Linked DNA regions of Homo sapiens: all the other regions are linked to region 2. Evidence: promoter capture Hi-C in human tissues and cell types (Jung and others, 2019). All regions are on one chromosome and are shown on one strand. The core of a region is centred on a gene start or on the middle of the fragment in contact, and the rest is flanking DNA. Distances in the headings are between cores, read along the strand shown. Region 1 has its middle 69 kb from the start of GFI1. Region 2 holds the start of RPL5 (ribosomal protein L5). Region 3 overlaps EVI5 (ecotropic viral integration site 5).

The links. Contacts are between HindIII fragments. The study calls those that stand out against the background at their distance.
Region 1: a contact is called between a fragment that was not itself captured here and the fragment with the promoter of RPL5 in region 2, in 1 of the 25 tissues and cell types used here (liver).
Region 3: a fragment that was not itself captured here is called in contact with the fragment with the promoter of RPL5 in region 2 in 1 of the 25 tissues and cell types used here (mesenchymal stem cells).

What each region holds. Positions count from the first base shown.
Region 1 is chr1:92,416,205-92,420,414 of GRCh38, reverse strand. No RefSeq gene overlaps it. Among named protein-coding and RNA genes, the nearest start is that of GFI1, 69 kb to the left of the region's middle. The HindIII fragment of the contact is 4,876 bases long and covers 1-3,765 here.
Region 2 is chr1:92,828,776-92,833,289 of GRCh38, reverse strand. It overlaps RPL5 (ribosomal protein L5), which reads right to left and starts at 1,250. Exons shown (of 8, transcript NM_000969.5): 1 at 1,173-1,250. The coding sequence starts at 1,175. It also overlaps a transcript of DIPK1A not described here. RefSeq lists enhancers at 172-809, 962-1,281, 810-1,448, 1,452-1,501. The HindIII fragment of the contact is 19,619 bases long and covers 1-4,514 here.
Region 3 is chr1:92,524,417-92,529,177 of GRCh38, reverse strand. All of the region lies in intron 19 of EVI5 (ecotropic viral integration site 5), which reads left to right. Among named protein-coding and RNA genes, the nearest start is that of GFI1, 40 kb to the right of the region's middle. The HindIII fragment of the contact is 4,390 bases long and covers 594-4,761 here.

The DNA.
Region 1 (4,210 bases), core at 78-2,577, 410 kb after region 2:
ATCCACCTGCCTCGGCCTCCCAAAGTGCTGGGATTATGGGCATGAGCCACTGCACCAGGCCAAAAGTGTATTTTTAAATTATAAAATTGATACATGCTTGTAACAATTTCAAACAACATGGTAGTGTATAATGTGAAAACTGAAGGATTCCCTTGCCTCCTGTTCTCAACTTCATAGTATTGAACAGTTTGCTGTATTGTCCATCAGTCTCTTTCTATGCTTACCCAAACAAATATTAATTGGCCATCTACTGTAGGCTATGTGCCACTTTATTTTCCAGCAATGCAGAACTGCCCATGTTTCTTTGCACATGCCAGGCTCTAGGTCTCCTCCTTGATTTTGCTTATGCTTCCCCTCGCCTTCCCTCCTCTAGGCAGTATCTACTCATCCTTTAAGACTCATCTTGTGTGTTGCTTCCTCCTAGAGGCTCCCACACCCAGCAGGTAGGCCCTTCTTTGCCAAAGTCACTGCATTTTTACACAGCGTTATTATGAGCTCTTTTGTGCTGGTGTCTCTCACTGGGGTGGAGCTTCATGAGGAACAGACTGCCTTATTCTCCTTGGTATTTCCTTCGCTTAGCGTAAGACCTAGCATAGAGTGCTCAATTTGCATGACTGAATGATTATGGCTCTTTTTACTGCCAAGTCTTCTGAAGTGCCAGTGCCGTGGGTTGGGAGGAAGTTAATCCAAGAGGACAGCACTATGAAGCTTCCTGACAGTCAGTACACAGCAAGAATAGGAGACAAGATGGATGGGTGCCAAAGAATAGGAGAAAGAACCCAAGAGTAAGGAAAAAAGCCTGATAGCAACAAAGGAAGGAAAGGAACTAATATTTATGAAGGATGTTCATATTTAGCACTTTGCACATATATGTATGTGTATACACACACACACACACACACACATATATTTTCTTTTTGAGATGGAATCTCGCTCTGTTGCGTGGGCTGGAGCGCAGTGGCCCGTGATCTCGGCTCACTGAAACCTCCGCTTCCTGGGTTCAAGTTATTCTTCTGCCTTAGCCTCCCAAGTAATTGGGATTACAGACACATGCCACCATGTCTGGCTAATTTTTGTATTTTTAGTAGAGACGGGGTTTCACCATGTTGGCCACGCTGGTCTTGAACTCCTGACCTCAAGTGATCCACCTGCCTTGGCCTTCCAAAGTGCTAGGATTATAGGCATGAGCCACCGCTTTTGGCTGCACTATGCGTATTTTTTCTTATTTAATTCTCGGCATTGCCATCCCCAGTTTACAGATGAGAAAACTGAAGATGAGGATGTAAAGTACCTTGCCCAAAGTCAAATATGGAATAGCAGAGCTGAGGTTCAAGCCTATTTCTGTGAGAGTTCCACGTACAAGTTCTTTTTTTTTTTTTTTTTTTTTGAGACACAGTCTCTGTTGCCCAGGCTGGAGTGGTGGCACGATCTTGGCTCACTGAAACCTCCAGCTCCCGGATTCAAGTGAATCTCCTGCCTCAGCCTCCCGAGTAGCTGAGATTACAGGTATGCACCACCACACCCAGCTAATTTTTGCATTTTTAGTAGAGATGAGGTTTCACCATGTTGGCCACGCTGGTCTTGAACTCCTGACCTCAAGTGATCCGCCCTGCTTGGCCTCCCAAAGTGCTGGGATTACAGGTGTGAGCCACCGCACCTGGCCTCCATGTACAAGTTTTTATGCACTGTGCACACTGATGATCAGGCAGGTATAATGTGGTCAACACCTACCAATTCTCTAGACCCTTTAGGGATGCCTGAAAAAGGTCTGTGTCCAGCAGCTTCTGAATAGACACCTAAAGGCCTTCAGCCTCTGGGGAGATAGACAGTGACAGATTTGACATCCAGATCTTCAGACATGGTGATCCTTTACACTTCCAAATGCCCTGAAAGGGGTGCTAAGATCCCGGAATATATACCACTAAGAGTTAGTCTCCTAGGTTCTGGAGGAGGCCAACAAAAATCACCTTTGGGATGTCTCACTCAGCCAAGCTTTCCCTAATCTTCAGGCAGCTGTGTCCTCCTTGGTCTCTTGGTCTCTCCCAAGCCCTGGTTGCTGTGTCTTTTCAGGACCTGCCAGCCAGAGTACACATGTGGGGCAGAGTCCGTCATCTCTGCAGGCCCAACAGCCTGGGGTCCCAGTCTTTTGATACCTGTGCTTTGGGTATTTCTTGGCAGTTGTGAGCACCGTGAAATTGAGGAGGACACTGCAGGACTGGGGTCAGGGGCTAAGGAGTTGCTGGAGTATGGAGCTATGTACAGGGGCAAGGCTGACTCACAGGGGATGCCAGCCCTTCAATCCACAGATGTTTACTGATACTACTTAGGTATTGTTTGGTTTTTGAGGGCAGGGATGCCAGGCCTGAGAGAAGCACTGATAGTAATAATAACAGTTACTTTTTATCCAGACTATCTATATGTCAGAGACCATACATATACCCTGTTGTATAACCCTTCAACAACTCTGAAAAAGAGCTATTAATAGCTGTATTTTATAGATTATAAAATTAGACATTAAAAAAACTGAAGCTCAGAGAGGTTGTCCAAAATCATTGAGGGACAGTGTTGGGATTTGAACTCGATCCCAGGTCTGTTTATCTGAAGCTTGTGCTAAACTGCCTAGGAGATATAAATTCCATCCCATCACCAAAGAGCTCACAATCCTTGTCTGCTCTCTGCTCACCCATTCAGCACGTTCTCTTGTCATCTCTTATCACTCTGTGCACTAGGCATACTGAAATCCTAGCAGTTCTTGCATGCATTATATTATCTCTTACCTCCAAGCTTTGTACCTTTGTTCCCTCTGCCCAGAATGTCTTCTATCCCTCTTTTCCTGTTAACTCCTTTCTCACTTTCAGGTCTCAGCTTGACTGTGACCTGGCTCTCCAGTTCTGGGTACTTCACACCCATGTGTAGGGGGCATTTGCTAGTTAGCTCCCTACTTCTATTTCCCTTCTTCCGTCTCTCTCTCTCTCTCTTTTTTTTTTTGAGATGGAGTTTCACTCTTGTCACCCAGGCTGGAGTGCAATGGCGTGATCTTGGCTCACCGCAACCTCCGCCTCCCAGGTTCAAGCGATTCTCCTGCCTCAGCGTCCCGAGTAGCTGAGATTACAGGCGACTGCCACTGTGCCCAGCTAATTTTTGTATTTTTAGTAGAGACAGGGTTTCACCATGTTGGCCAGGCTGGTCTCGAACTCCTGACCTCAGGCGATCTGCCTGCCTCGGCCTCCCAAAGTGCTGGGATTACAGGCATGAACCACCTCGCCCAGACTTATTTTCCTTCTTCTCTTGCAGGCAGTTCTTGGATTCCCATTTGGGAAATTCACTCTACCCCCTCATTGGTACGACTGACTCTTCTCCCCAAGCTCCAGGCAGGGGTCTGATTGTTTAAGCCAATCAACATATCCCATTCTGCCTATCACTGTGATCAGTTCAGGGACAGAGGTATACTCACAACTACTGAAATAAGGAAAAACTACAGATTTTGAGAGTTAGTTACCCAAAGAGTCATCTTCTTTTCTATGAGACTGACTGAGATAGGATGTAGATATTTGGACTGGCTATGGGCAATCCAGAATTTAACAGAGGAGGGGCTTAAGGAGTGACAGTCTGATGGTAGGGGAATCAGCCGCATCATTAAAAATAGGATATTGTGGGCCAGGTGCAATGGCTTACACCTGTAATCCCAGCACTTTAGGAGGCCAAGATGGGAGGATCACTGAGCTCATGAGTTTGAGAACATCCTGGGCAACAGAGTGAGACACCCATCTCTACAAAAAAAAAATTTTTTTTAATTAGCCAGGCATGGTGGCATGTACCCATAGTCCCAGCTACTTGGTAGGCTGAGGCTGAGGATCACTTGAGCCTGTGGGGGCTTGAGGATGCTGTGAGCCGTGATCACAACACTGCAGCCTGGGTGGCAAAGCAAAAATCTGTCTCAAAAAAAAAAATGGCCAGGCATGGTGGCTCACACCTATAATTCTAGCACTTTGGGGGGCCAAGCTGGAAGGGTCCCTTGAGCTCAGAAGTTTGAGACCAGCCTGGGCAACATAGTGAGACCCTGTCTCAAAAAAAAAAAAAAAAAAAAGAAAAGAAAAAGAAAAAAAGGATATTTTGGCCCTGTATTTATTCATTGTTTACTCTCAACTTTTTCAGACCCTTGGGCAAGGAAGAAGGGTGCTACTTATTCATGGAAGACTTCTTCAAGCCC
Region 2 (4,514 bases), core at 1-2,500:
GTAAACAGACAACTGTCACTTGTAGAATCCCAGGTTTCACAAGCAACTAGGGTCAAGAATCTTTTTCCTCTACCTTCCATGTCACAGACTAGTAGTTTCATAAAACAATAAAAATGAATCCTTAGAGAAATATGGAATAAAAGAAACATACAAAATGCAGGCCCCAATTTATTACATTTAACAGGTATAAAATTATTGTTATATTGCTTTCAAAAGGTTTTAAACGCTTTCAATTTCCATATTTGTTTCTTCAAGGACCAGCACCGGTAATTGTGCCAAACTTTTGCGAAGCACTGCTCCAGACAGCAATCAGTGATGCCAAACGTCGGTTTGTTCGGAACACGCTATGTCCCACTTCGAAAACCTAGCCTCAAATAACAACTACGTACCTCTCTCGCTTCCCATGTTATGTTTTTCAAAAGCCTAAATTACCTGCCACAAAGCTTAACTGGGCAAGAGCACATTCAGCAGTAATTCCCCCACTAAAACAGCACTGTTCCCCATCAGCTAAAGCAACATTTCATCCCACCCTTGGGGCCCTACCCCAATAATTAAAAACTCATCCGGCGACGGACTCTAGAGGAAGAGGCAGGAGGCACGTATTCCATGTTAAAGGAGCTTCCGGGGCCCAGGGACCCCTCGGCCTCCAAGCTCCACTGACAATTTTGGCTTAAAAGCCACTTGCTCAGCCCACGGGCACAAGCTTCCTAAATCTAAGACTTGCCGGCTCCGACATTCTCCTGGAAAACCCACGAAGTACTCGGTACTCGGAGGTCGAGTGGGACCCGAGGACCTGCAGCCCCCCTCCATTCTGGCGTTCCCCAGCTAGGCTGAGGTCGACTGCTTGCGACCTCTCACGCCCGGCCGCTTGCCAGCGCCCCCTCACACTAGACGGCAGTATCCGCACTCAGGCTGTCTACTAAACTCACCCTTCTCCCCAATCCGCCGTCCAAGCTCACGCAACCCTTCTTCGCCAACCCCTCCCCCCAAGTTCGCGCACCGGGCGGCAGCCATTTAAGGCCACGCTGGGAACTGCACCTCGACCAAGTCAGAGCTAGCAATCTAACGCCATCCGGCCCCTGCGACGCGCGAGACGGGCCCTAGGCTGGCATACGGGCAAGAAAAGGGAACCTCCATGCATCTAAAGCCCCGAGACCGAGGCATCCACTCACCATCCTGCGGAACAGAGACCGGCGTCCGCTGCTCGACAGAGACCTGCAGGCCCAGCGGCGCTAGGGGGTGGGAAAAGGGCCACAGCCCTTGCGCAGGCGCAGTATGTAGCGCGGACGGTCACGCCAGTGACGTGTGAAAGAGAGAGGGCGTCGGCCACAAGGCGTTTTACGTTCCGCCCCCTGCTGGAAGGAGGGTGAATGCCTGCCCAAGCTCTCCAGGTTCCAATGCTCGGGGTATCTCACAGGATCCGTGCGGTGAGGAGGAGCAGGGAGGATTACTGGAGCCTTTCGCTTTCTTTGCTACAGCGTTTTGTTTTGTTTTGTTTTGTTTTGTTTTGTTTTGTTTTGTTTTGTTTTGTTCATAACGCATTTTGCTTTTCTAAGCAGGAAAAAAAAAAAAAATTAAATAGGACAAGTTTGCTTGGGAGCCCTCTTGCCTTCTCTGGGCTACTCATTCTGGTCCAAGAGCATATGGACCCACCCTCCCATCTCACCCCCAGGAAGCCTTCCCTGAGAGCCCCAAGCCTGGGATAGGGGCCACTCCTCTGCCTTCCTACAGCAGCTTTCTACTGGCTTCAGCCCACCACAGACTGTCAACTTTTCGAGGTGGGCCCTGATGTCCACCTCTGACTCTCCAGCACCTAGCAGGGTATCAGCTGCTCACCGTTAGAGCTGGGAGAAGGGACGGCCAACCAGGATGACAGGGTTAAGTGACTCCAAAACACTGCCACTAGAATAAATCAGGATTAGGATGCCAATTACTTCTGATTCCAACTTGTAATTCCTTATATAATAGGAAAAATAAACAGAGTTCGCTATGGCCGATGTCAACAGAGCTCTAGAGGAGAAAACTTAAAACACTTTTCACAGGAAGTGTGATTCTACTTTTGTGGAGCCACCTTTGAAAGGGTAAAGAAAGAGGTATTCAATTCGTATTTATAGAAAATATTTAAAAACCTTCATTTTGGTGGATTATCAAGTTATTAGCCTACCAAAGGTGCTCCATGTCTTGGTCAGGCCCTGCTTACACTGGAGGCAAAAGCATCAGGAAGGAAAGTCTGCCTGGAAACAGGCCGACTCCTAACTTCTGCATGTTTTAGGGCAAGGGTTCATAGGAAGACCCACATACTATTCATCTGAATATTTAGAAGTTGTGGGCCGGGCACGGTAGCTCAGGCCAGGTGCGGTGGGTCACGCCTGTAATCCCAGCGCTTTGGGAGGCCGAGGCAGGCGGATCGCGAGGTCAAGAGATCGAGACCATCCTGGACAACATGGTGAAACCCCATCTCTGCTAAAAATACAAAAACCAGCCGGGCATGGTGGCACGCACCTGTAGTCCCAGCTACTCGGGAGACTGAGACAGGAGAATCGCTTGAACCCAGGAGGCAGAGGTTGCAGTGAGCCGAGATCACACCACTGCACTCCAGCCTGGCGACAGTGAGACTCCGTCTCAAAAAAAAAAAAAAAGAAAGAAGTCATGAAGCAGGCTGGATGTGCTGGCTCAGGCCTGTAATCCCAGCATTTTGGGAGGCCAAGGCAGGAGGATCACTTAAACCCAGGAGTTCGGGACCAGCCTGGGAGACTTGGTGAGCCCCTGTCTCTATAAAAAATAAAATCCAAAAAAAGAAGTTATGAAACAAACAACATGTTAAATTAAATATACTTTATCATCCTTATCCCTCTCCTTCTTACCTTATAAATCCATAACAAGAAAATTAAAAATATGTATACCTATTCCCCTTGGTCACAGTCAGGGGTCTGTGGCTAGCATGGCTGGTTCAGCCAGTGCAGTTGGTGACACCAGGAGCTAGGGGGTAATTGTCCAGCATCCTCAGCCAACAGCATCTTATTCAAGTGGTAAAAGTTAAAAAACCACCAATAGTGGGATGAATTAACATTATAGGTTCACACCTGTAATCCCAACATTTTGGGAGGCTGAGCCAGGAGGATCACTTCAGCCCAGGAGTTCGAGACCAGCCTGGGCACATAAGAAGACCTCTATCTCTAGGGAAAAAGAAAAAGGAAAGCAAAGAAAAAATAAATTAACATTATATGCCTCCTGATGCACTGAGAAGAACACAAAACACTTCCTACCAAATTTACATAATCTAATCTAAAATAGTTATCTAATATGTACCAACCAAATCTAATCATGATGAAACTACACGTAAATCCAGATTTAGATAATTCTACAAAGTAACTGGCCTGTACTCTTCAAAAATGACAAGATCATGAAAGATAAGGAAAGCCTAAACAATATTCCAGACTGAAAGAGACCAAAGTGACATGACAACTGTATGCAATGTGTGATTCCATATTGCATCCTGGACAAGAAAGGAAAAAGGGAAATAAGAAGTCTTTGTATTTCTTTTGTTCAAAGGACATTGTCAGAACAATCGGTGAAACTTTACTGAAGTCTGGATTAGGTGATAGTAATGAATCAATGTTAAATTCTGATTTTTTTTTGAGATGGAGTTTCGCTCTTGTTGCTGAGGCTGGAGTGCAATGGCGCAATCTCGGCTCACCACAACCTCTGCCTCCTGGGTTCAAGCGATTCTCCTGCCTCAGCCTCCCGAGTAGCTAGGATTACAGGCATGTGCCACTATGCCCGGCTAATTTTGTATTTTTAGTAGAGACGGGGTTTCTCCATATTGATCAGGCTGGTCTCGAACTCCTGACCTCAGATGATCCACCCCCCACCTTGGCCTCCCAAAGTGCTGGGATTACAGGTGTGAGCCACCAAGCCTGGCTAAATTCTGATTTTCATAGGTAGACTGGTTATGAATGAGAGTTCTTTTTTTTTTTTAAGGTAATACACACTGAACTATTTTGGAGTAGTGGGCATTATTTCTGCAACTTGGTCCCAGTAAATGGCTTAGGAAGAAAATTACATGTGTGTATATACATACACATATATGTGCATGTAAAGAGAGAGATTAATAAGGCAAAAATGTGTTAAAATGGTGACAGTGGGGAACTTGGGAGAAGAGTATATGGAAATTCTTTGTACGGTTCTTAACCCAAGCAGTGGTTTTGAAATTATTTCAAAATAAAAAACAAAACATTGGCTGGGTGTCATGGCTCACCCCTGTAATCCCAGGACTTTGGGAAGCCTAAGCAGGTGGATCACTTGAAGTCAGGAGTTTGAGACCAGCCTGGGCAACATGACAACTCCTCATCTCTACAAAAAATAAAAATTGTAGCTGGGCGTGGTGGTACGTGCCTGTGGTCCCAGCTACTCGGGAGGCTGAAGCGGCAGGATCACATGAGCCCAGGAGGCAGAGATTACAGCGGGTCATGATCTTGCCACTGCACTCCAGCCTGGGTGATACAGTAAGACCC
Region 3 (4,761 bases), core at 1,539-4,038, 310 kb after region 2:
TCTATATGAAGAGGATAAGAAAATGTACTAAACAGGAAAGTGTTAGGCTAATGGTCTAACATATAAAGAGCAATTTTGTAATGGGCAAAAACAGTGGGATCTAAATACATAACTTACTGGTCATCTGGTTAGATCAAGAGGTATGCTAGTGGAAGAATGAATGGCAGTTGCATGTCTTTCCAACAATCTTTTATAGATATTATTTCTTAGACTTTTATTTAGGATACATTTTTATTGAAGTATGAGATATGTACAGAAAAATACACACCATAAGTATCTAGCTTGATGAATTATCACAAAAATGAGCATGCCCATTTAATTTCAACTCAGGTGAAGAACTGGAACATTACCAGAATTTCAGAAGGCCCTCGTTACTCCTCCCACACTCTCTCTCTCATCTCCTCATTTTCCTGACTTCTAACATGACAAACGAGATCCCTGGTTTTTAACATTTTACTAATGAAATCATATAGAATGAGTTATTTGGGGTTTTGGATCTTTCACTCAATGCTGAGATTTACCCACGTAGTTCCATGCAGCAGTAGTCTGTTCATTTTTGCTACTGTATAGTAGTATCTCATATGAATATATTGTAGTTTGTGCATTTGACTATTGTAAACATTTGAGTTATTTCCATTTGGGGTTATTATGAATAAAACTGTTATGAGCCCTGTTATAAAATTTTTGGTGTAATGTATTTACTTCTATTTTTCATATGCCTAGGAATGGAATTGCTGGGTGACTACTATAATTGTTCAAGCCAGGACACTTTTGAGAATGAAAATAATTAAAAATTACTGTGTAACAACAGGCATAAGCCAGGACTGTCCCAAGCACACTGAAGTGTATAGTTATTCTAGGTATAAAGTGTGTAGACATTCAACTTTAGTCGATACTGCGAAGCCATTTTCCAAAGTGCTTATACCAGTTTACACTCCCACCAGCAATGTGCAAGACTTCCTATTCCGTATCTTCACTAACGTGATTGGATAGCTGAAAATTCAGTGTTGTATTTTCTATTAAGAACACAGAATTAAGTTATTCAGTGTGGTCAGTTAAGGGACCATTAATTGGCTTTGACAGTTAACTAGGCAGAAGGTAAGGTAAAAGTTCTCTTGCAAAAAGTAAGGAGCCTATTACAAACTCTGTGGAAAATGGTTTGGCAGTATTTACTAAATCTTCTTTATTACGCAGAAGTTACACTCTAGAGAAATGAGTACATATACTGACCAAAAGACATGTTTAAGAATGCTCATAGCAGCATTATATATAATAGATTGGAGACAACCCAAATGGCCATTAACATTAGAAAGGATAAATTATGATGTAATCACAAATGCAATACTATGCCACACCGGAAAAGCATAAGCTACCATGCTATATGCCAACATTGGTGAATCTCACAGACAATGCTGAGTAACAGGATACAGAAACAAATGCATACCATATAATCCTTTATATTAAATACAAGAATAGACAAAACTATTGTGTGATGGTAGATATCAGAATGGTGGTTACCTTTGGACGAGTGTAGGGCAGTTTCTGGAGGAAGACACATGGAAGTCTTCTGGGGAGTGGGAAATGCACTATGGCTCAATCTGGGTGATAATTTCATGACTATGTATGTAAGTAAAATTTTACCAACTTGTACACATAAAATCTGTACATTTTGCTGTGTTATATTTCACTTAAAAATGAGCCTAAATACATACTTTTTTTTTCTTTTCTTTTATTTCTTTTTTTCTTTTTTTTTTTTTTTTTTTGAGACAGTGTCTCACTCTTTCACCCAGGCTGGAGTGCAGTGGCACCATCTCAGCACATTGCAACCTCCACCTCCCAGGTTCAACCGAGTCTCCTACCTCAGCCTACCAAGTAGCTAGGAGTACAGGCGTGTGCCACCTTGCCTGGCTGATTTTTGTGTTTTTAGTAAAGACAGCATTTCACCACTTTGGCCAGGCTGGTCTTGAACTCCTGACTTCAAGTGATCCACCTGCCTCCACCTCCCAAACTGCTGGGATTACAAGCATGAGCCACCGCACCTGGCCCTAAATACATTCTTGAAACACACATAGCCTCAAACTTTTCTCAAGCGGTTTTGCTATTAGAGCGTTATGGCCATAGGAAAAAAACACTGAACATCTTAATCAGTAGACTTCATCTTGGGGGACAGTCAGAGTTACAGAATAATTAAAAATTAAGTGGAAAATTAAGAGAGTTACCGTATGCCCCTTCAACACCTTCTGCCTTTCTCCTGTAATTGACATCCTGCAGTAGCTTAATACATAAGTTACAATTGATGAGCCAACATTGACACATTATTATTAACTGAAGTCCATAGTTTACATTAGGGTTCATTCTTTGTGTTGTACATTCTATATGTTTTGACAAGTGTATAATGACATGTATCCACCATTACAGTAGAATACAAAATGGTTGCACTGCCTAACAATCCCCTGTGTTCCACCTGTTCATCCCTCTTCTCCTTCCTGAACTCCTGCAACCACTGCTTACTGTCTCCATAATTTTTCCTTTTCCAGAATGTCATGTAGTCATAATCATACACTATCTGGCCTTTTTCAGATAAGCTTCTTTTGCTTTGCAATATGCATTTAAGGTTCCTCCATGTCACTCCCCCTAACCCAAACACCCTCATACACTAATATTAAACTGCTTAACAGCTCTTCATTAAACTGCTTAACAGCTCTTCAGACCTACCATGCTCTCTTGCCTCCATATTTTAAGCACATGCTTTCTGTATCTAATTAGGCTTTTCAGATGTGACACCATGTGATAATTTCTAGCTAGAAAGAATAATTGGTGGCTGGGCACGGCGGCTTATGCCTGTAATCCCTACACTTTGGGAGGCTGAGGTGGAAGGATCACCTGAGCCCAGGAGTTCAAGACCAGCCTGGGCAACATATCAAGACCTCATCTCTACAAATAATTTAAAAATTAGCTGGGCGTGGTGGCACATGTCTGTGATCTCAGCTGCTCAGAAGGCTGAGGCAGAAGGCTCACTTGAGCCAGGGAGGTGGAGGCTGCAGTGAGCTGTGATAGTGCCACTGCACTCCAACCTGGATGACACAGGGAGACCCCATCTCAAAAAAAAACAAAAACAATAATAGGTACAGATTCCATTGTTCTAGAAGCCAGAACCCTACTCAAAGTCTTGGAAAGGGCCTGCCCTTAAGAAACATATATTTCATTTGTATGTTTGTGTGTGTATACGTTTATATTAAAGCTCCTGGGTTTCCATAGAGATAATCTTCTGAGACCTATCTAAAACTGGGTTGGTATGGATATCTGGTCTAAGAAAAAAGTAAAAATAAATAAAATGGGAACATAATTACAGCAAAACTTTCCTACTGTTCTAATGAGAGCCTGGGTCCGAAAGAAGCAGTAAACTGATGGTATAATAATAGTACCAGCGTCCGATGAGCTAATCATGAAGAATGTTTTTTAAAATGTTGGCAGTGGTACCTAATCATTTTTATTCCACAAATTTCAAACAAATTATTATAAGAATATTCCAAAAGTCAACCTAAAATTACTAACCTAGTCAACAAACATCAAGATACATTAGTGGGATTTTATCAAAATAGCATTGTTGGCCGGGTGCAGTGGCTCACCCCTGTAATCCCAGCACTTTGGGAGGCCAAGACAGGTGAATCACTTGAGTCCAGAAGTTCAAGGCCAGCCTAGCCAATATGGCAAAACCCCATCTTTACTAAAAATACAAAAATTAGCCAAGTATGGTGACGTAGGCCTGTAATCCCAGCTACTCGGGAGGCTGAGCAGGAGAATTGCCTGAACCCAGGAGGCAGAGGTTGGAGTCAGCCAAGATTGTGCCACTGCACTCCAGCCTGGGCAACAGATTGAGACTCTGTCTCAAAAAAAAAAAAAAAAAAAAGGCATTGTCATTGGCACTGATTCTGAACTGACTCATATCTTATTATAACAAAATGTCCCTTGCAACCTACCACACACGCACACCCCGATGTATGTGTCTCTCCTATGGCTGTTGAGTTGTATTAAAAAATACTTAATCTGGCTGGGCGCCAGTGATTCCTGCGTGTAATCCCAGCACTTTGGGAGACCAAGGCGGGCAGATCACTTGAGATCAGGAGTTCGAGAGCAGCCTGGCCTACATGGTGAAACCCTGTCTCTACCAAAAATACAAAAATTAGCTGGGTGTGGTGGTGGGCACCTATAATCCCAGCTACTGAGGAGGCTGAGGCAGGAGAATTGCTTGAGTCTGGGAGGCAGAGAGCTTACAGTAAACTGAGATCACGCCACTGCACTCCAGCCTGGAACACAGTGAGACTTTGTCTAAAAAAAAAAAAAAAAAAGTAGTTAATCTATCAGTGTCTGTAAACTAAGACTATATTCCTAAGGGTAGACATGTTATTCCTTAAAGAATATGGCTTGTCACCTGGATATGAAGCTGATCCTTGGAATAAAACTTGAAGATTGACACTTAGTAGGAAGAAGAAAAGAAAAGGTTCTGATGCTGTTTCACCCAAACACACATGTTCTCTCAAGTGTAGACTGTGATTGTTGAGATGTCTAAAATTGGGTGGTGCGCTTCAGTGATGAATCCCACAAAACACCTTAATGGGCCTAGACTTGAAACTAGATGGTGAAGGTGTCTGTAAACCCCAAAGAATAGGTCATATCTTAAAGGTAATATTTACTAGCCTCATGTTTATTTTCATTTTGATTTTTCCCTGCTCTGGTTGGTTGTGTGGCCACATTTAGGCC